Regions from separate parts of the Homo sapiens genome. Here region 1 is linked to region 2. Evidence: promoter capture Hi-C in 16 types of primary human blood cells and fetal thymus (Javierre and others, 2016). All regions are on one chromosome and are shown on one strand. Each heading gives the region's core, a stretch centred on a gene start or on the middle of the fragment in contact. The rest is flanking DNA. Distances are from core to core; before and after follow the strand shown. Region 1 overlaps LOC124901018 (a long non-coding RNA gene). Region 2 holds the start of ACOT12 (acyl-CoA thioesterase 12).

Region 1 (4,653 bases), core at 1,443-3,942, 500 kb after region 2:
AGGCAGTGCAGATCTGGTGTTGCAGAGCAGTTCCAACTGGCCCTGACACATTGCTGAGATATGCTGCATATTGCAGGGAAACATTGTGATTGATACTGCACTCTGAGCACCACAGCTAGAAGGCCACTCTCTAGACCCTCCGTGTATTTCTGCTACCATAGTTGAGTTCTATACTTATCCAGACTCAAGACTATTTGTTCCCCAGACTGTTGCATATCAGCTAAACTTATCATTATTCATAAGTAAATTAAGTTAAATATTATATAAATATATGAAATATGAATGCAAAAATCAAGGCTGTCCTTTTGAAAACCTGGTCGAATATTTTGACAAGATTCAATAAAAGTAAGTTGCTGGGCAATGATTAAAATAGAAAGGCTATTATAAAATTCTAGAAGGATTCTGCATTCAGTTTGTCCAATAGTATCTTTAAGTTTTTGGTTCCCTTTAAATGAGTTATCATTGGAAACAGCAGAGGTTGTATAATGAGTGCACTTTATGCAAGAAAGACGAAGCAGAACTCCAGTCAACTCACTGACATTCGAGTATAATAAAAAGCCTGGGCCTTATATCAAAAGCTGGACACAGTTACTTTAATTTAAAACAAGCATTCATATGTCTGTCTATGTTTTTTTCTTATGATTCACCTCTTTAACCATTATCTTTCATTAACCAGCCAACTCCCAGTCCTGATTGCATTGGAGAAGAAGCCCTCTGTGGAGCCTCCACTCTCATTATTCTATTGAGATCCATGGAATTAGGAATTCCCATCCTCAGTTTCTTCTTGGAGGTACAGAGCAGTAGCATTCCATGAAGGAGGAACTTCAAAAGAGATTGTGTAATTCAAAGGTTTGTTAATTTCAGCCTAATCATGACCAAAAGAAAAAGGACAAGTATTTATATTTATCAGCTGAAAATGGCACTACTATAGCAATAGCATAAACCCAATTACAAATCCCTTATATAAAAGCTTGGAAATTAAGATTTTTTAATACATTTAGATGTTGTTTCAGAATTTGCATTCTTTACATTTTGTCCATGAACGCTTTGTTAATTATTTTATATGACATAATTTCAAAAAGCCTTAATTCTAATTTGCAAAAATTAGGATTGCCCTACATTGGAAGCAACCCACTCCTGAGGTAGCATAAGTCTCTTGAAGAAAACTCTGTTCTGGGCAATGCCTCTCTTCTTGATGGCATGGTCCTCTCCCCTGAGCTTGGTTTTGGCATAGAAGCTTATGCTCATTGTAAGTGGTGATCTTTCTGAGTTTTTTCCCCAGAATGAGTCACTTCTTTGAGCTTTTCTCTTTCCTCATATGCTATAGGTCTCTAGTAATATCACTGGGCTTCAGTTTGTTCAAGTTCCTCAATATGAATCTTGTGAATGACTTTGCAGGTTACCTTATTTTTAAAGTACAGAACCAAGATATTTATCTACAAAAGCATTTAACACCTCTAGGCAATTAGATTTCTTCAACATGTCTCTCTTCATCACTAGGTTTCTAATGAGAGTGTCAAACAACTCTAGACCCTTTCCAATACTTTCAGATGACCTGTTATAGTCCTTTAGATTAAATATGAGGCACTGATACATGTTATCTTGGCTCTACCAAGTGTCTTTGGCCAGTGTTTCTCAAATTGAATTCTAGGACTTAGGAAGGCCAACAGAGAGTTCTAAGGGCATTACAGAAATGAGAGAAGCAGAGACAAAGACTGCAACAAAAGGAACTGTTCCCCTCTCCCCTGGACCCTTCTGTTTGAATTTCTTGCTTTTATTCAGAAATAGCTCATTTATCTGAAGGTCCCTTATGCGGTGAAGTCAATCAACTGGTATATTTGTAGCACCCAGAAATTGAGCAAAAAAGGCCTCCAAACTCCAAAACTTTTCAAAATGTCATGCATGGTATTTGGACCTTTTACTCTTTTGTATAACAGCTTTTACTGAATTATAATTCACATACCTAAAATTCAATCTTTTTTTTTTTTTTAATTGAGATAGAGTCTTGCTCTGTCACCGAGGCTGTAGTGCAGTGGCGTGATCTTGGCTCACGGCAACCACTGCCTCCTGGGTTCAAGTGATTCTCCTGTCTCAGTCTTCTGAGCAGCTGGGACTACAGGCACATGCCACCACGCCTGGCTAATTTTTTTTTTTTTTTTTTGTATTTTTAGTAAGGATGGGGTTTCACCATGTTGGCCAGACTGGTCTCGAACTCCTGACCTCAGGTGATCCGCCTGCCTCAGCCTCCCAAAGTGCTGGATTACAGAAGTGAGCCACCATACCCAGCCTAAAATTCAATCGTTTAAAGTGTACAATTCAGTGGTTTTATACACACACACACACACACACACGGTAGTGCAAACATCTCGACCATGTAATTCCAGAACATTTTTATCACCCCTCAAAAAACTCAAACTCCTTAGCAGTCACTCCCTAGTCTCCTCTTCCTCCAACCCTAGGCAACCACGCATCTCCTTTCTGTCTCCATGGATTTTCCTATTCTGGAAATTTCATATAAATAGAACTGTGCAATATGTGGCCTTTTGTGATCGGCTTTCTTTCAGTTAGCATAATATTCTCAAGTTTCATCAATGTTGTATGTTTACATCTGTGAAGTACTGTATGATATGTCAGTACTTCATTCCTTTTTTGAAATTGTGGTAAAATAGACATAACAAATTTATCATAAGTATACCATTCAGTGTCATTAAGTACATTTACAACATTGCACATTTACAACATTGCACAATCAGTATCATTATCTAGTTCCAGAACTTTTTCATCATCTCAAACAGACACTCTATACCTATTAAGCTGTCACTCCCTATTTCCCAATCTTCCCAGGCCCCTGGAAACCACTAATATACTTTCTGTCTCTATAGATTTGCCTTTTCTGGACATTTCATGTAACTGAAATGATATAATATGTGGCCTTGTGTCTCTGGCTTATTTCACTCGGTATGTTTTCAAGACTCACTCGTGTAGCACATATCAGTATTTCTTTTTATAGCTGAATAATATTCCATTGTTTGGATATATAACATTTTGTTTGTCCATTCATCTGTTGATGGACATTTGGGTTGTTTTTACCTTTCAGCTATTGTAAACAGAACTGCTATGAACATTGTAAATAAGTTTCTATTTAAACATCTGTTTTCCACTCTGTTAGGTTTATACAGTGATGCCCCATGCCACATAACCACATAATGTTTCAGTTAATGGTGATAGGCCTGCATATACCATGTTGGTCCCCTAGGATTATGTTAAAATAATAGTATACTTTTACTATACCTTTCCTATGTTTAGATAATTTAGATACACAAATACTCAACATTGTGTTACAATTGTACAGTATTCAGTACAGGTTATACCATATAGCCTAGGTGTGTAGTAACCTGTACCATCTAGCTTTGTGTTAGTACACTGTATGATCTTTGCACAATGATGAAATCTTCTAACAAAGCATTTCTCAGAACTTTTCCCCTTGGTTAAATGATGTTCTGGATACTAGACCCTTATCAAGTATATAAAAATAAAACCTGTGTTTGATTAAGCCACTCCAACTGAGTTTGTTATATGCAGCCATGAAATCCTAAATGAAACTCACCAGCTTTTCTGAGGATCTGATGGGAAAACACATGTAAAGCCTGACATATAATTCAATTAGTGTTGTTTTTATTTTTACCACATTTGAATTCACTTAAAGAAATGAGCCCTACAGCACTCACTAGGTCTTAAAGATATTATTTAGTAAGTGCTTATGAATTCCTATTATGTGCAAGACACTATGTGGACATGATACAGGGTCAACGGCATAGTATGTGGCCTGTGCAATCACAAAGGACCCTGTGCCTGTTTTAATTCTCTGCTGTCGTCATCTTGAAATTCTTAATAAGTTTTCAACAAGAGGCTGCACATTTTCATTTTGCATTAGGCCCTGCACATTATGTAGCCAATTCTGTTATGATGAATAGGAAATTCTTTTTGTTCAGAATAATAACTGATGTTTCTAAAAATTACCATGTATTATTCAGAAAACATTAAATTCTGTTAAATAAACTGTTTAAGAAGACTGAGAAATATAGAGTACATTTTAGAAACATCTTACCGAACATGATGTAAATAAAAAAGTTTTGACATTTACAGGTAAGCTTTAGTTATCTGAAAAAATCACTTATTTAGAACAGTCAAGTGTCTGATAAATAAAATGTCAATATATTTTTCAATAACTAGAAAGAGAGAAACTGCAGGCTTTGTTATGGTAGCAGTTCTTAGGGTTTGGAGATTTGTATTGCTAAGGTTTTGGGGATTACGAAGTAAAACTTTTGAAGTAGATTTTTCCCAGTTTAGTATTGGTATAACATACAGGAAGGAACTAGTTGTGACACCCTCAATAAGTTACTTAACCTCTCCTAATCTTAGTTCCCCTTTCTGTAAAATGAGGATGACATGTAGCTGACAAGTCTATGTGGAAGATTAGACTTTTAGCACTGTGTCATATGAGGTACTCAATAAATGTCCCTTTCTTGGTGAAAATGTAAATTAGTATAACCATTGGAAAACTGTATGGCGGTTCTTCAAAAAAACTAAAAATAGAATTACCATATGATCCAGCAATCCAACTTCGGGGTATTTACCAAAAATATTTGAAAT
Region 2 (4,739 bases), core at 2,061-4,560:
ATACTAGCTGCTTTAAAATCCTTGAAGCTTAATTCCAGCATCAGGGTTGTCTAGGGATGAATCTCCATTGATCATCTTTTCTCTTAAGAATAAATCATGTTTCCCTCTGTATTTCAAGTAATTTTGGATAATATCCTAGCCATTGTGAGTGATCCATTGTAGAAACTGTGTTTCTCTGAAAAGTGTTGGTTTTGTTTTTGGTTTTGTTTTTTAAAGCAAGCAGTTAACCTGACCAAACCAAAACTATAATCTGTCTACCTAGAGATGGGCACAACTATTTTCAGTTCTTTTGGCCTCAACCAGGAGGTTTGGAGTCTGTCCTATGTATACATGATTCAAGATTTGCCAGATATCTGGGAAAAGATTATAGATAGATTTTAGGGCTCTGTCTCTCTGGCTCTTTCCTTTCTGGAACTTTCCCTTTTGTATTTCATTCAGTAGCTGTGCTTTTCCCAAACCCTGTCTTTGGGCTCTTCAAACCAGCAAGCCTGTGGGTTTTCCATCAGAACTATAGCTGGGAGCAGACTGGCATTTTCTTTCAGGCTTCAAGTCATTTATAAAACAAACACAGAAAAAGCCAACACCACTTTGTTCTTTCATGTGTTAACTTTCAAGTGTTATAAGCCTACTTTTGTTCACTTTTCACCTGCCTTAAGTCTCTTTTATTTAGTGTTTTGCCCAGAGTTTATAATTATTATCTGTGGGAGATTTTTTAGTAGGAAGCACTTGAACATCTTAGAAAAATCCTTAAAGCCCTTGGTGAAGAAAAGAAAGGGAAAAATGAACAAAACATATGACATGATCAATCAGATTAGCATCTTCAAAGATTACTTTAGAAGCAGTGTGGAGAGGAGACCAGAACGAATGGAGATGAGTTTGGAAATCACTGCTGAAGTCTGCATGAAACATGATGATAGCTTGGAGTAGATGGTCGCAATGGGGGTGCAGCAAAGTGCTTGGATTTCAGAGACTCCTTTAGGGGGTAACACTGATAGGACTTGCTCCATGCATAGAGTATGTGAAGTGAGAAGTAAGGTGGAGAGAGAAATATCAAGGATGACTCCTAGACTTTTGACTTGCTCAACTAGATGAGTTGGGTGCCACTCCAGAGATAGTAAACCCTGGAAAAGATTCACAAATAAAAAACCGTGTGTGTGAGATGTTCCAAAATAATACATGGACGTGTGAGATAGAGGATTACTCAGATAGCTTCAAGACTTTAGACTTAAGGGACTGGAAAAATAATGGGGCCACTGACAGAAGTAAGGATAGTGAGAATATTTCATCTTTCTTTAAATATTGAGAAGACATTTTGGAATCCAGCAGTGCCTAGGGGTCATAGAAATGCCTTGGGGGCCATGACTGGGATTGCAGTAATGTGGCTAAAGAGATAATGCTGGCCTATAAAAAACTCTGAGAAAATCCCAGAGAAATCAGTTTTATATTACTACACAGATTCAGTTACACCTTGGCTAAATAATGTCCCCTGCTTATGTGGTGCCTCAGGTCACCATAAAGTGTTTAACACAGGCGTTATTCATGTTGCCCAAACCAACTTTATCATACAGGTTTTCTTAATATTAGTAACATTATCAGTTATTAATATTATACTACTAATAGTAATGTAACTATTAAGGTATAGAGTAATTGATTGTCAATTGGATCTTTCCATGGTTTCCAAAGATGTCAGGTCATAGAAATGATGACAATTGCAGGTGGGCCATTGTTTCTCCATCACAAGACAGAGGCACTAAGCAAGGTAACTAAAAGTCACTTCAGTGGTCTCATAATGTATTCAGTTGCCTTGGAAACAGGCATCATTATTATTAGCAACCTCAGTGGTTTATGTATTATTCTTTTTTCCTATGTGTGGATTAATTTTGTATTCATGTTTCCATTGTTAATATAACCAATCTCAAATCCTGTTAAAAAAAAAAAAGGCTTAAACGAATCATTGATTTCTCACAATTGTGGAGGCAGGGAAGTTCCAAATCGAGGTGCTTGCCCATTGTAGGTCCTAGTGAGGGCTCTCTTCCTGGCCTGTGGATGGCTGTCTTCCTGCTGTGGCCTCACATGGCAGAGAGAAGCTCTCCAGTGTCTCTTCTTATAAGGACATTAATTGTATGGGACCAGGATTCCACTCTTATGACCTCATTAGCCTTAATTCTTCACTCCAAATAGAGTCACACCAGGGGTTAGGACTTCAGTGTATAAATTTCGGTGGGTGGTGTGGGGGATATAATTCAGTCCTTAATAAATGTTTTTGCCATTTTTACTGTCATTCTGTCACAAGAACACAGTGGAGTTTTCCAGAGACTACATAAGGGTGTGGTAGCAGCAGGGTGAATGCAGAAGCAGGTATGAGTAGTCAGCAATCCTCCACTAGCCAGACCTTAGAGAGACTCGCCAGGATGTAACCTTTATCACCACTCCTCTCGCTACACTTTTGTTCTTGTGGAAAATAGTTATTTCTTAATTAAAAATGTTATGCTAACAATGTAGTCCATTTCTTTTTTAAAAATAATTAAAAATTTTAAATTTCCATTACGGTAAATGTGATATAAATAGCCTACATAAACAAAAGCTGCCTGGGTGCGGTGGCTCATGCCTGTAATCCCAACACTTTGGGAGGCTGGGGCCTCCCAACACTTCAGGATCACTTGAGTCCAGGCGTTTGAGACCAGCCTGGGCAACATAGTGAGACCCCATCTCTACAAAAGCAAAACAAAACAAAACTCCCAAAGTCAGCTGGGCCTGGTGGCGTGCGTCTGTGGTCCTAGTTACTCTGGAGGCTGAGGTGGGAGGATCGCTTTAGCTCAGGAGGTCGAGGCTGCAGCGACCTCTGATGGCGCCACCGCTCTCCAGCCCGGGAGAGAGCTCAACAACAACAACAACAAACAAACAAACAAAAAACCCCGCAGAAGCTCTCTGGGCTCCTCACTTGTTTAATGGAATGAAGGAGTCCCGAGAGCCACACATTTGGGAACCACCGGTCTCGGCCATGCCCAGCGCGGGCGCACTGTTGCAACACCCCTATCCCTGGCTGCGCAGGGTTCAGCTCTCCGCAAGTACCTTCCTCGCCTTCCTACCCCCCCCAGCCCCCAGCCGCCGCCGCTCCCGCAGCCCCGGTCCCGCGCCTCCCCGCAGCCCCGGCGCCCGCCTACCCGCCAGGCAGGCGGTGGTGTCGATCCACTTGAGCAGCTGCCCCGCGCTCAGCTCGCCGCGCGCAGTGGCGTGCGCCGGCTGGATGGCTTGGCTCATGACCACCTCGCCGGGCGCCGGCCGCTCCATGGCCAGGGCGAGAGCGCTACGCCTGCGGCCCCCGACACCCCACCATGCCCGCTCCGCCCGCCCCGCCCTCCCCGCCCAGCTCCAGAGGGCACTGGCGCCGCCCGCCCGGGCCGCGAACCCCTGGCCGCCAGGTGGTGGGAGCTGCGAGTGAGGGGGCCCGCACTGTCATCCCAGGACTATCGCGAGTGGGGGAAAACCAGCGCTCTCGGGTCTCAGGAGAAGTCTGGGAAGTGCGCGGGGAGGGGGCTCCCGGGTAGACAGGTCTGGAAGGCGGCTCCCCGAGAGCCGGAGCGCGAGGAACAGCTTTTGAGATAAAAAAGCTGTTACACTTTCTAGAGCTGCTATCAGTGACTGTACAAAGCAGTCCTCATTAGGGAAACAGTGTCTCCAGAAAACCTCCAGCATCTAATGGATTGGTGGATGTCTGACTGTCAGGGGAGGCTGCTCCAGGGAGCACATTTACGATGGAGAACTGGAAACCCGGAGAAGTGGAGCAAGCAGCTGAGGTGATAGGAGCCGATAAGCGACCCGATCACCTGGCTGGAACCCAGGGCTCCTGACTGTCCGGAATAGCACGAAGAAGCCTAGCCGACTCTCACGAATTGGTGGTGCCTTTTCATCCTTATATTTTTGGCTTGCCAAGCCTCAGCATGGCGACATCAGAATGGAGATTCTGGTATTTTTCTTTCCTTTTTAAAAGATTTTTTTTAAAATGAAAGTGAAGAAATAAGGAAATGTTGACTTGATAGCTTTTAGGAGCCTCTGTGTATAGGTTTCAGGACAATCCAATCATAAATAGGAATTGCATGTTTTCACTGAGGCAAGCATGAAGTCTGACTTATATAAAAGGCATTAAAATAACTTTTAAAAGCAAACAAAAACTTGTGCATCCAAGATGGTCCCATTATGTAGCTATACACTTATTTCAATGATAACGTTATTACATCGCTTTTGGCACTCCTCCTTGGAAAATGCCTTTTTAATGACTTCTGTATTGAGAAATCATAATTTAGGAATTGATAGATTATCATATATTCACTCCATCTACCAATAACTCTGTGAGAGTCATTTATTGACCTTGGACTTGGCCATGTGGCTTGCTTAAGAATGGAATGTGGAGAGATAGCAGTGTACCACCAGTCTTGCCTTTAGAAGCACCGTGTTTCTGTTCTCAGGAACATCTGACCTCTGCCATGAGGTCAAGTAGCTGCCTATTAGCATCTGGGTACCAGACTGAATTCACGTATTGCAGAGGCATCTCAGCCAGCCGGAGGACTCACAGCCTGAAGCAGAGCAACCCAGCAGACATGAAGACTCTTGAGTGAGACATAACTACTTATTGTTGTGTGCCACTGTGATTTTGGGGGTTGTCTGTTATGCAGCAATAGCTGACAGTTACATGAGTGAACTGTATTAATATTTGGGAAGTTTATTAAATTACTGGAAAT

What was found. Contacts are between HindIII fragments. The CHiCAGO score rates a contact against its expected background, and 5 or more counts as called.
Region 1: a contact is called between a fragment that was not itself captured here and the fragment with the promoter of ACOT12 in region 2, in 2 of 17 cell types (endothelial precursors and M0 macrophages). The highest score is 5.4, in endothelial precursors.

The regions. Positions count from the first base shown.
Region 1 is chr5:81,894,201-81,898,853 of GRCh38, forward strand. LOC124901018 (a long non-coding RNA gene) reads left to right here. Exons shown (of 6, transcript XR_007058843.1): 5 at 677-849. Among named protein-coding and RNA genes, the nearest start is that of ATG10, 75 kb to the right of the region's middle. The HindIII fragment of the contact is 2,914 bases long and covers 1,236-4,149 here.
Region 2 is chr5:81,390,824-81,395,562 of GRCh38, forward strand. It overlaps ACOT12 (acyl-CoA thioesterase 12), which reads right to left and starts at 3,311. Exons shown (of 15, transcript NM_130767.3): 1 at 3,165-3,311. The coding sequence starts at 3,291. The HindIII fragment of the contact is 6,480 bases long and covers 26-4,739 here.